Regions from separate parts of the Homo sapiens genome. Here all the other regions are linked to region 1. Evidence: promoter capture Hi-C in 16 types of primary human blood cells and fetal thymus (Javierre and others, 2016). All regions are on one chromosome and are shown on one strand. The core of a region is centred on a gene start or on the middle of the fragment in contact, and the rest is flanking DNA. Distances in the headings are between cores, read along the strand shown.

Evidence for each region. Contacts are between HindIII fragments. The CHiCAGO score rates a contact against its expected background, and 5 or more counts as called.
Region 2: a contact is called between a fragment that was not itself captured here and the fragment with the promoter of PRPF39 in region 1, in 12 of 17 cell types (activated CD4 T cells, non-activated CD4 T cells, monocytes and 9 more). The highest score is 17.7, in activated CD4 T cells.
Region 3: a fragment that was not itself captured here is called in contact with the fragment with the promoter of PRPF39 in region 1 in 1 of 17 cell types (activated CD4 T cells); the score reaches 5.0 in activated CD4 T cells.

The regions. Positions count from the first base shown.
Region 1 is chr14:45,082,609-45,085,548 of GRCh38, forward strand. It overlaps PRPF39 (pre-mRNA processing factor 39), which reads left to right and starts at 1,508. Exons shown (of 14, transcript NM_017922.4): 1 at 1,508-1,641. It overlaps PRPF39-DT (PRPF39 divergent transcript), which reads right to left and starts at 1,418. Exons shown (of 2, transcript NR_184211.1): 1 at 864-1,418; 2 at 440-779. RefSeq lists a silencer at 1,213-1,502. The HindIII fragment of the contact is 5,294 bases long and covers 1,186-2,940 here.
Region 2 is chr14:45,137,532-45,140,471 of GRCh38, forward strand. The region is part of intron 2 of FANCM (FA complementation group M); the gene reads left to right. Among named protein-coding and RNA genes, the nearest start is that of FANCM, 3.1 kb to the left of the region's middle. The HindIII fragment of the contact is 3,673 bases long and covers 1-2,940 here.
Region 3 is chr14:45,034,070-45,037,009 of GRCh38, forward strand. The region is part of intron 11 of TOGARAM1 (TOG array regulator of axonemal microtubules 1); the gene reads left to right. Among named protein-coding and RNA genes, the nearest start is that of PRPF39-DT, 48 kb to the right of the region's middle. The HindIII fragment of the contact is 6,169 bases long and covers 1-2,940 here.

The DNA of each region.
Region 1 (2,940 bases), core at 258-2,757:
GTCTTCCCAACGCACCACTCCCTTGACTATTCTTCCCACAGTAAACATTTAAAAGCTGCTGTTTAAACCTGTGAAACAAACAAACAAAAAACATGGCCACACTGTCAGAGAATCCAAAAAAGTTAGCTTGGAAAGTAGAAGAGGCAAATGGAAAGGGAAAGCTACTACTAGGTGCAGTGTGATGCAAGTAAAAGGTAGGAAAAAAGACTGAATTTGGTATTTCGAACGAAAGGTGCTGGTGAGAGGATTTATGATTAACCTGCGTTGTGACAAGAAACGTCGTCTTGTAAATAAGTATTTCCAGAGGAGACAGATTTCAGATGAGGAACTTGGAGCCCAGTAGTAATACTAATGCACCTGGAACAACAGATTACATGGTAAGTGACAGGTGAATGCGGGGGCACCAATGTAACAGAATCTTAAAGGGAGAGAGGCCAGATTTGAAAGAAAATTTTTTTTTATTAAAGTGGAGATGGTGGTACAACTGAAGAGGACTGCTAAGATTGTTAACGCACAGTCCCCCTCAATTTGTCCAGAGGATAACATATCCCTTCAGATACAAAGATTTTTTTTTTTGCTTGGCCAACTTTAGTCAGGTTTCTGAATCTTCTGCTAGGCTCTTCTGTACACTTTCTTTGTAAAATCCAGTTTAAGCAAAGAACTTTGCTAAGTCAGATTAGCAATAAACCCCCATCCTTGATAGCTGATCATCCTCAATATCTGATCAGGTTCTTCAGTCTCCACCATCCCCCAGGTGATGCCTCATTATCTTGGCCTGTCTTCAGCAAAAATCCTATTAGGTGGGTTTAGCCAAAATCCCCCTTACCCTGATGTTTCCTCTTAGTAATTATACATTCACTTACCACCGCTCCTTGGCTATAAATCTCCACTTGCCCATGCTGTATGAGGAGTTGAGCCCAATATCTCTTTCCCTACTGCAAGTCTCCATTGCAGTCAGTGGTCCCTATACCTGTTGCGATGGTCCTGAATAAAGCCCTCTTTTTGTGCTTTAACAAGTGTCACTAAATACTTTTTTCTTTAACAATAGCCCGTTCTCCAAACCCCTAACTCCAGAACTGTTTAGTTTTCAGGAAACCTGAGTGGGCCCAGGGTCTATACCATCGTGAGATTTGTGGGTTTAAGGCTGAATTTCTGCCCGTTTTTAGGTAAATGTTTTAGTGTGAAAGCTTGAACAATTGTAGGGAAAACCTTAGATTTGCCCCCAAAAATGACATTTTGCCGTTTTTGGTGGGGAGGGGTCAGGGCGCTGTGTTTAAGATCAGGCGTGTGAAAGCCCCTAAACGCCCTCCTTTCCTTTGGGAAGTCCCTATGGAGGGAAAGGCAGGTAGGCGCAGCGGTCCCCGCCCTCGCTCGCGGCGGGGCGGGGCGGGGCTGCGGGGGCGGGGCTGGGGCCGCACGGGCAGCGAGGATCCCTGGGAGGGCCAGGCCTGCGCGCTGCGAACCCACGTGACTTTTTCGCCTCCAGGGACACTGACGCATGCGCATCGTGCCCTGGACCAGGCGGCCGTGGCGCGGGTGGCGGCTGCTGTGCTGGCTGTGGGGACGGAGGCGGTGAAGTGCCATCTTCGGCTAGGTCGTCACAGGCTCCGGCTCATGGCATCAAGTGGCATCCATCATAAGGTCTGCTGGGGCGGGCTCCTTGAAATTAGCTGGGGCAGAGGGTGGTACTTGGTACTGAAAGGGGCCTGCCGGGTTTCAGGCCGCGCTCTGGCCGCGGCCTCCCTCTCCCGCCCTGTTTGAGGCCTGGCTCGGATTCAGCGCTCAGCTGTCCATTCCTTTCTCCTTCCCACCTGTTGGGTGGAGCGGTGCAAGGTATTTTTTTCTTAGACCAAACGTTTCACTTGAGGGGTGCGTTAGGTAGGGTGGAGAAGTGTGGGCCTCCTTCGCCTGGATTTAGGAAGATATTTGGGGGTAATTCTAAAGCCCTTGCTTCTCCCGGAGCTGGAACACGGCTGGGGTGGCTGGAAGTGGAAGGAGCACATTTGCAGCCGCCAGAGGATTGGGAAGATAATATACGTTCTATTACTAAGGCATGTGAGCGCCTTGTAGGGCACGTTCTGTCTTCTGACTACATAAGCAACACTTTTGCGACCCTAAGTCACAGCACCCACAGCTTTTGGCAGGATACTTTAAAACAGAAAAAACACATCATTGATCCTGGCAGGATTTTTTAAGGGATTGTGCTTAAGAATGTTTAACTTTGGTAATCAGAGACCACCACTGGTGTTTTTCTCCAAAATCACATCTTTAAGTTAATTAATACTTGAAGTTAATAAATAATACTGCTCAGTGTATTAGTAATGATGCCATAATACCATGTGAATTTATGCTGATTCAAATGTTGTTTTTTTCGTTTGATACTCATATGGCCTTCTGTTTGAGGACTTCAGATTATTTAGCAACTGATTTAATCTGTTCAGAAATAAACTTTGCTACAGCTGGAAAGCGTGAGGCTTGAGAAAGCAAGTTTTGGACAGGGACGTATGAAGCTCATGTTGAAACTTAAGTGTTTTAGGCTGTATGGGAGCTTGAATGGAGTGAAAAGAACAAGCGTCTACTGTCAGGTTTTCCTCCTCCCTCTAGATTTATAACCTCATTCTAGAGTTGCAAAAGTTGGAACTTTCCACTGTTCACTCTCTAGTAGGGATAAAGTGATGGAAAGGAGTTCTGTTAAAGAGGACTAGTACTTAGATTGTGAACTTTGAAGTAGGGGTTGAGCATAGATGGCTCATAGGTGGTATGAGACACTATTTGTGTAAAGTCTCAGAATATTTTTCCTTGCTTATAATTGAATAAGAAAGAAGATGTTTAAAAGTCAAATGATAAAAATTGTATGTGCTGTTTTCTGTGGTATGTTTTAACAAATCTACATGGAAGATAGGACTTCAAAAAAAATTAAAAATAGCCGAAGGAGGAAGA
Region 2 (2,940 bases), core at 134-2,633, 55 kb after region 1:
GGACAGTGATCTAAAATAGGGTATGAAAGGAGTTTTGAAATTAATAAAGATTGGTAGTGGATATGCGGTGTCTCTTCTTGGCGGCTAGGTAAAATAATGACATAATGTATGCCACATACCTAACACAGTGCCTTCCAGTTGAGTACTCCAGGAATATAAAATAAGATGAAGTAGTGGGATGTGGTTGCAAACATCATTCATATCTTTGCACTGAATGAAGTTGACTTTCTGTTTCCCTCTTCTCCTAAGGGGGATTTTGCCTCTTCTACTCAAGGTCCAGGTCATTAATATTTTATGCTTAATAGTTTGAAAGCCTTTGTAGGCCATAGGGGATAAAGGTGGTGGGGACTCATTAAAAAATGTTTGGCTGGGATAACACTTAAGATTTGAAAGAGATTAGAGAGAAGAAGGCTAAAGACAGAGTATCTAATGAGGGGTAGAAGGGATGTAGGATGACTTCCAGATTTCTGACTTGGAAAACTGTGAAGATTGTGAGTTCTGGGTGGAGAGCAGGTTTAGGGGGAACGTGGAAAGATGATTTAGATGTGTTGAGTTTGAGGTGTCTATGAGGAATTCAGCTGTAGATATTCATTAGGCGATACTTGATAGAAGTATGGATCTTGCTGGAGAGTTCTGAGGTAGATAGAGATACAGATTTGGAAATTATAAACATATAGATGGTAGTTAAAACTATAGTAGTTGGTGATGATAGGAGGAGATTATAGAGCAAGAATAAAAGAGGGAAAGGTAGGGAAAGTTAATTTCATTTAGGGCAAAGACATGAATTTCTCTGCCAGTTTTTGAATTTGTATAGTCATTTCTTTGGGGACTGTAAACGTTATTGTATTATATCTCTGTATTAGGGATAATTGTCATCTTTTTTAATAATTGATCTTCCTAATTATATTCAGGAAATGAATATAATATATTTTTCCACTTATTGATATCATTCCAAATTAAATTAATACATAGCATGTTAAAAATTTCCATCTGAGAGGGGCATTTAAAAAATTTTAGCTTGAGGCCAGGAGTTTGAGATCAGCTTGGGCAACATAGTGAGACCCTGTGTCTACAAAAATGAAATGAAATAATAAAACACTTAAAAATTTTTTAAAATTCAAACTGTATGGAATACGTTTTGAAGATTTAGCTGGTAATTATTTTATTTTCAAAACATTTCTAGGCATTAGATTTTTTTTTAACAGCAAGGCTTTATGAATATAATGAAACATGCATTGACTTCATTAATAACCAGACAGCCCTGACAGCTTACACCGCATTGAATATTCCAGATATACATTCCAATAGGTACACCTGCTCCATGAGGCACACACCACCATTTCCTCTTCTACAAGATGCTTGAGAATTCTTCGTGAAAAGAAGTAATGTATTTGGCTTACTTTTCATATGTAATAGTTCTGGAAGGCATATTGATACATGTGCCATATAACAACAAAATGATTTCACTCAAAACTGCCTCACAATCTGAAAGAACACTTTGAATTTTGGCTATCATACAAAACATTTTTAAAAGCATCAATCCAGTAAGCAATCTTTTTGTCTTCCTTACTGCACTCATGACTTTTCAAAAATCCTTCTATTATATGTAAGGACCATCACTTCTAGCATTAAGCTAAACTGAAAATGGTCACTAGGGATATTTTATCTTGCATCAGTTTTTAATTATAATTTTACTTGTTTCTGAAGAATAATAAGTATAATGTTATGTCTTCATATGCAATCTGTACCATATTTTTAAAAGCTCGATAAATATTTTTTCAGTATTAATCAAGATTCAGTGTTAGTCTCATTGGATTTGTTTTTGTCTTGGGTTGAAATTGGAGTGATTTTTGGATAATCTGGTTTTATTGTTTAATCCTGTGTTTAATTTGGGAACTATGGTATACTGAGAGCTGTTCCTGCAAATCAGTCTACTTGGAAGTGCATTTTCCTCTGTATTGGGAAATGAAGTGGTATATGGGAATCTGGCAAATTATCCCAGTATTAATCATACTAGAATGGGTGTCGAGTTCAAACCAGAAAGTGCAGATGGTGGTTTGGTGCTACCGAGGAAATGTTTTAGGATTTAAAAGGAAATTTAGATTTTAAAGATTACCTCAAATGACTATATTTTTTAATGAATACACTTAATTTATATATTGTGAGCTGGGCGCAGTGGCTTGAACCTGTAATTCCAGCACTTTGGAAGGCCAATGCCAGGGATCACTTGAGGCCAGGAGTTCAAGACTGGCCTGGGCAGGGTGACTCTGCCTCTACAGAAAGTGAAAAAATTAGCTTTCACTACATTACAGGTATGCTGGCGCATACCTGTAGCCCCAGCTGCTTGGGAGGCCAAGGCAGGAGGATCACTTGAGCCCCAGAGGTTGAGGCTACAGTGAGCTATGATGGATGGCATCACTGTGCTCCAGCCTGGGTGACAGAGTAAGACCCTGTTTCTAAAAAAAAAATTTTTTGTGAGCTTTCCACATAAAATGTAACTTAAAAAAAAATCTTTCCCAAAATTTCAAATATAATTTCGTATTGCTATTTAAAATTCTGTGCAGTTTTATCTGTTAAGATTTCTCTTAATCTGTCAAGTGTGCATATGGGTATAGCCGTAAGGCTGAACTGTGGCCCAGACAATGGAAACTGAACTTTCTTCCTCTTCCATTTGACCTTAAAGCAGTCCTTTTGAGTTTTTTTTTTTCTTTTGTAGAGACCAGGTTTCACCATGTTGCCCAGGCTGGTCTTGAACTCTTGAGCTAAAGTGAACCACCCACCTTGGCCTCCCAAAAGTGTTGAGATTACAAGCGTGAGCCACTGTGCCCAGCACCTTTGAGTATTTTGATTTGCCCTTTGAGTATTTTGATGTTGCAGTTTTTTCTGTAGAAGAAGCCCTACTGTGTTCTTGATCAGCATAGAGAATAAACCTAAATCATT
Region 3 (2,940 bases), core at 184-2,683, 49 kb before region 1:
TCGCTTGAACCTGGGAGGCAGAGGTTGCAGTGAACCGAGATCATGTCACTGCACTCCAGCCTGGGTGACAGAGTGAGACTCCATCTCAAAAACAAAGAAACAACAACAAAAAAACAATAGTTTTCAAGACACTGTTCACCAGGCTATGGAAAGATGTTGATCTCTGAGAGACAGGAAACAAACCAGGTGAGCCCTACAATTACCCAGCTTGCTTTCTGGAGAGAGTTTCCAGGTTGCAGCTAAAGGGAGGGAAAACAGGCAGATAGCATCAGAGATGGACATGGTGCTGAGAGTTTGAGGAGGCCATGGTGACTAGACTTTGCAGGACAGAATGCCAGATAGAGCTCCACAGAGAGCTCCAGAGATCATAAGAGGATTTTACTCAAATGTTTAGCAGACAACTGGTCGGGGCATGCATGTAAATACATTTCCTGAGGCCAGAACAAGAACCACTCAAAAAAGTTACAAGGAACAATGTCAGGAGCATATACAATGTTAATAATACTTCCTGTTCCCACCAGCAGAGTGGAAAAGTTCATAATTCACAGGGCATTGGGTAGAATACTCAGAGTTTTGCTCCATAGTGTAGTAAAATAAACCATAGACTGAATGTTAGTTTGGTTCCTACCCAATGAAGTTTAAAAGCAAGGCCTAAGATGATCAAACATTTGATCCTTATTTGAAATACATTTTCAAATAACTATATCCCAGAACAAAGCTGAAGAATATTTATAGGAATACAAAAATAGCTAAAGTGAAATTACCAGGCATGCAGAGAAGCAGGAAAATATAACCAATAGTGAGAAGAAAAAAAGCCAAGTGAAACCAATGCAAAAATGACACAGGTGATAGAATTAGTAGACAAAGACATTGTAACTGTAACTACTGCATGCATTAAAGAGGCTGGAGGAAAGGTTGAGCAAGTAAAGAGATATAATATATATAAGAAACCCAAAACTAATATCTACAGATGAAAGCTATAATGTCTGAGATAGGAAATACACTGGATGAGATTAATAGGTTAGACATTCCAGAAGAAAAGATTAGTGAAGTTGAAGACGTAACCATTGAAACTATTCAAAATGAAACAATGAAGCCTGACCAATAAGGCAAAATCCTGTGTCTACCAAAAATACAAAAATTAGCTGGGTGTGGTGATGCACACCTGTAGTCCCAGCTACTGGGGCGACTGGGGCAGGAGAATCGCTTAAACCCGGGAGGCGGAGGTTGCAGTGAGCTGAGATCGTACCACTGCACCCAGCCTGGGCAACAGGGTGAGACTCTGTCTCAAGTAAAAAAAAAAAATCAAAATGAAACAATGAGAGAAACAAGACTGAAAAAAAAGTCCAAAAAATCTGTCAATTGTGGGACAACTTCAAGTTATGTGTAATTGGAGTTACCAGACAGAGAAGGAGACAGAAAAGAATATTTGTAGAAAAAAATGGACAAAATTTGTTCAAATTGGATGAAAACTATAAACCCAAAGATCTAAGAAGTTCAGTGAACACCAAACACAAGAAACATGAAAAGAAATATTTCAAAGGAGATATAATCAAAAGGCCTAAAATTAGGGATGGAGAAAATCTTAAAAATAGCTAGGGGCAAGACATTACATATAGAACAAAGATCAGACTACTCATCAAATACACTGCAAACCAAAAAACAGTTCAGTGAGATCTTTAAAGTACTGAAAGGAAAAACAAACTGTCAATCTAGAATTCTATATCCAATGAAAATATCTTTCAAAAATAAAAGTAGTGGGCCAGGCATGGTGGCTCACACTTGTAATCCCAGCACTTTATGAGGCCAAGCCAGGAAGATTGCTTGAGCCCAGAAGTTAAAGACCAGCCTTTGCAATATAGCAAGACCTCATCTCTAGAAAAAAAAAAAAAAAGAAAGAAAAAAAATTTAAAATCTGGATGCAGTGATGTGTTTCTGTAGTCCCAGCTAATCAGGAGGCTGAGGCAGAAGGATTGCCTGAATCCAGGGGTTCGAGGCTGCAGTGAGCTGTGATTGTGCCACTACACTGCAGCCTGAGCAACAGAACAAGACCTTGTCTCTAAAAAAAAAAAAAAAAAAAAAAAAAAAGTTTTAAAAGAAGCAAAATGTCTGACAGTTTGATACAAAGGCCCAAAGGGAAGACATGGCAGTATTGCTTTACCAAGGCAACAAAGGAGATAAAATATAACTATAAAAATAATTATAAAGAAAAGATGGGACAAATAGAAAACAAACAGCAAGATGATAGACTTAAACCCAATCATCTAATCACATTAAATGTAGATGAACTAAACACCCTAGTGAGATTAGATTAAAAAGCAAGACCCAACTATATGCTACCTATAAGAAATTCTGTTTAAATATATAGATACAAATAAGTTAAAAGTAGAGATTCAAAAAGATGTATACCATGCTAACACTAATCAAAAGATAGATTACATGGCCATATTAATATCAAAGTATATTTCAAAGCAAAGAATATTAATGAGAGTATTTATTTTATATTGTTATGTAACAAATTGCCACAAACTCAGTGGATTCAAACCACACAAATTGATTAACTCTCAGTTTTCTGGGTCAAGAGATCAGATATAAGTTAACTCAGCTCTTTGCTCAAAATACCACTAGGCTGAAATCAAAGTATCAGCCAGGGATGTGATCTCTTCTTTCAATTTTCTTAGAAGCTCATTGTTTGGAAGAATTGTCTTCCTTGTAGATGTGCAACTGTGGTTTTCATTTTTGTATTAGTCCGTTTTCATGCTGCTGATAAAGACATATCCAAGAGGAGAAGAAAAATAGGTTTAATTGGATTTAACAGTTCCACATGACTGGGGAGGCCTCAGAATCATGGCGGGAGACAAAAGGCACTTCTTATATGGTGGCAGCAAGAGAAAATGAAGCAAAAGCGGAAACCCCTGATAAACTCATCAGATCTTGTGA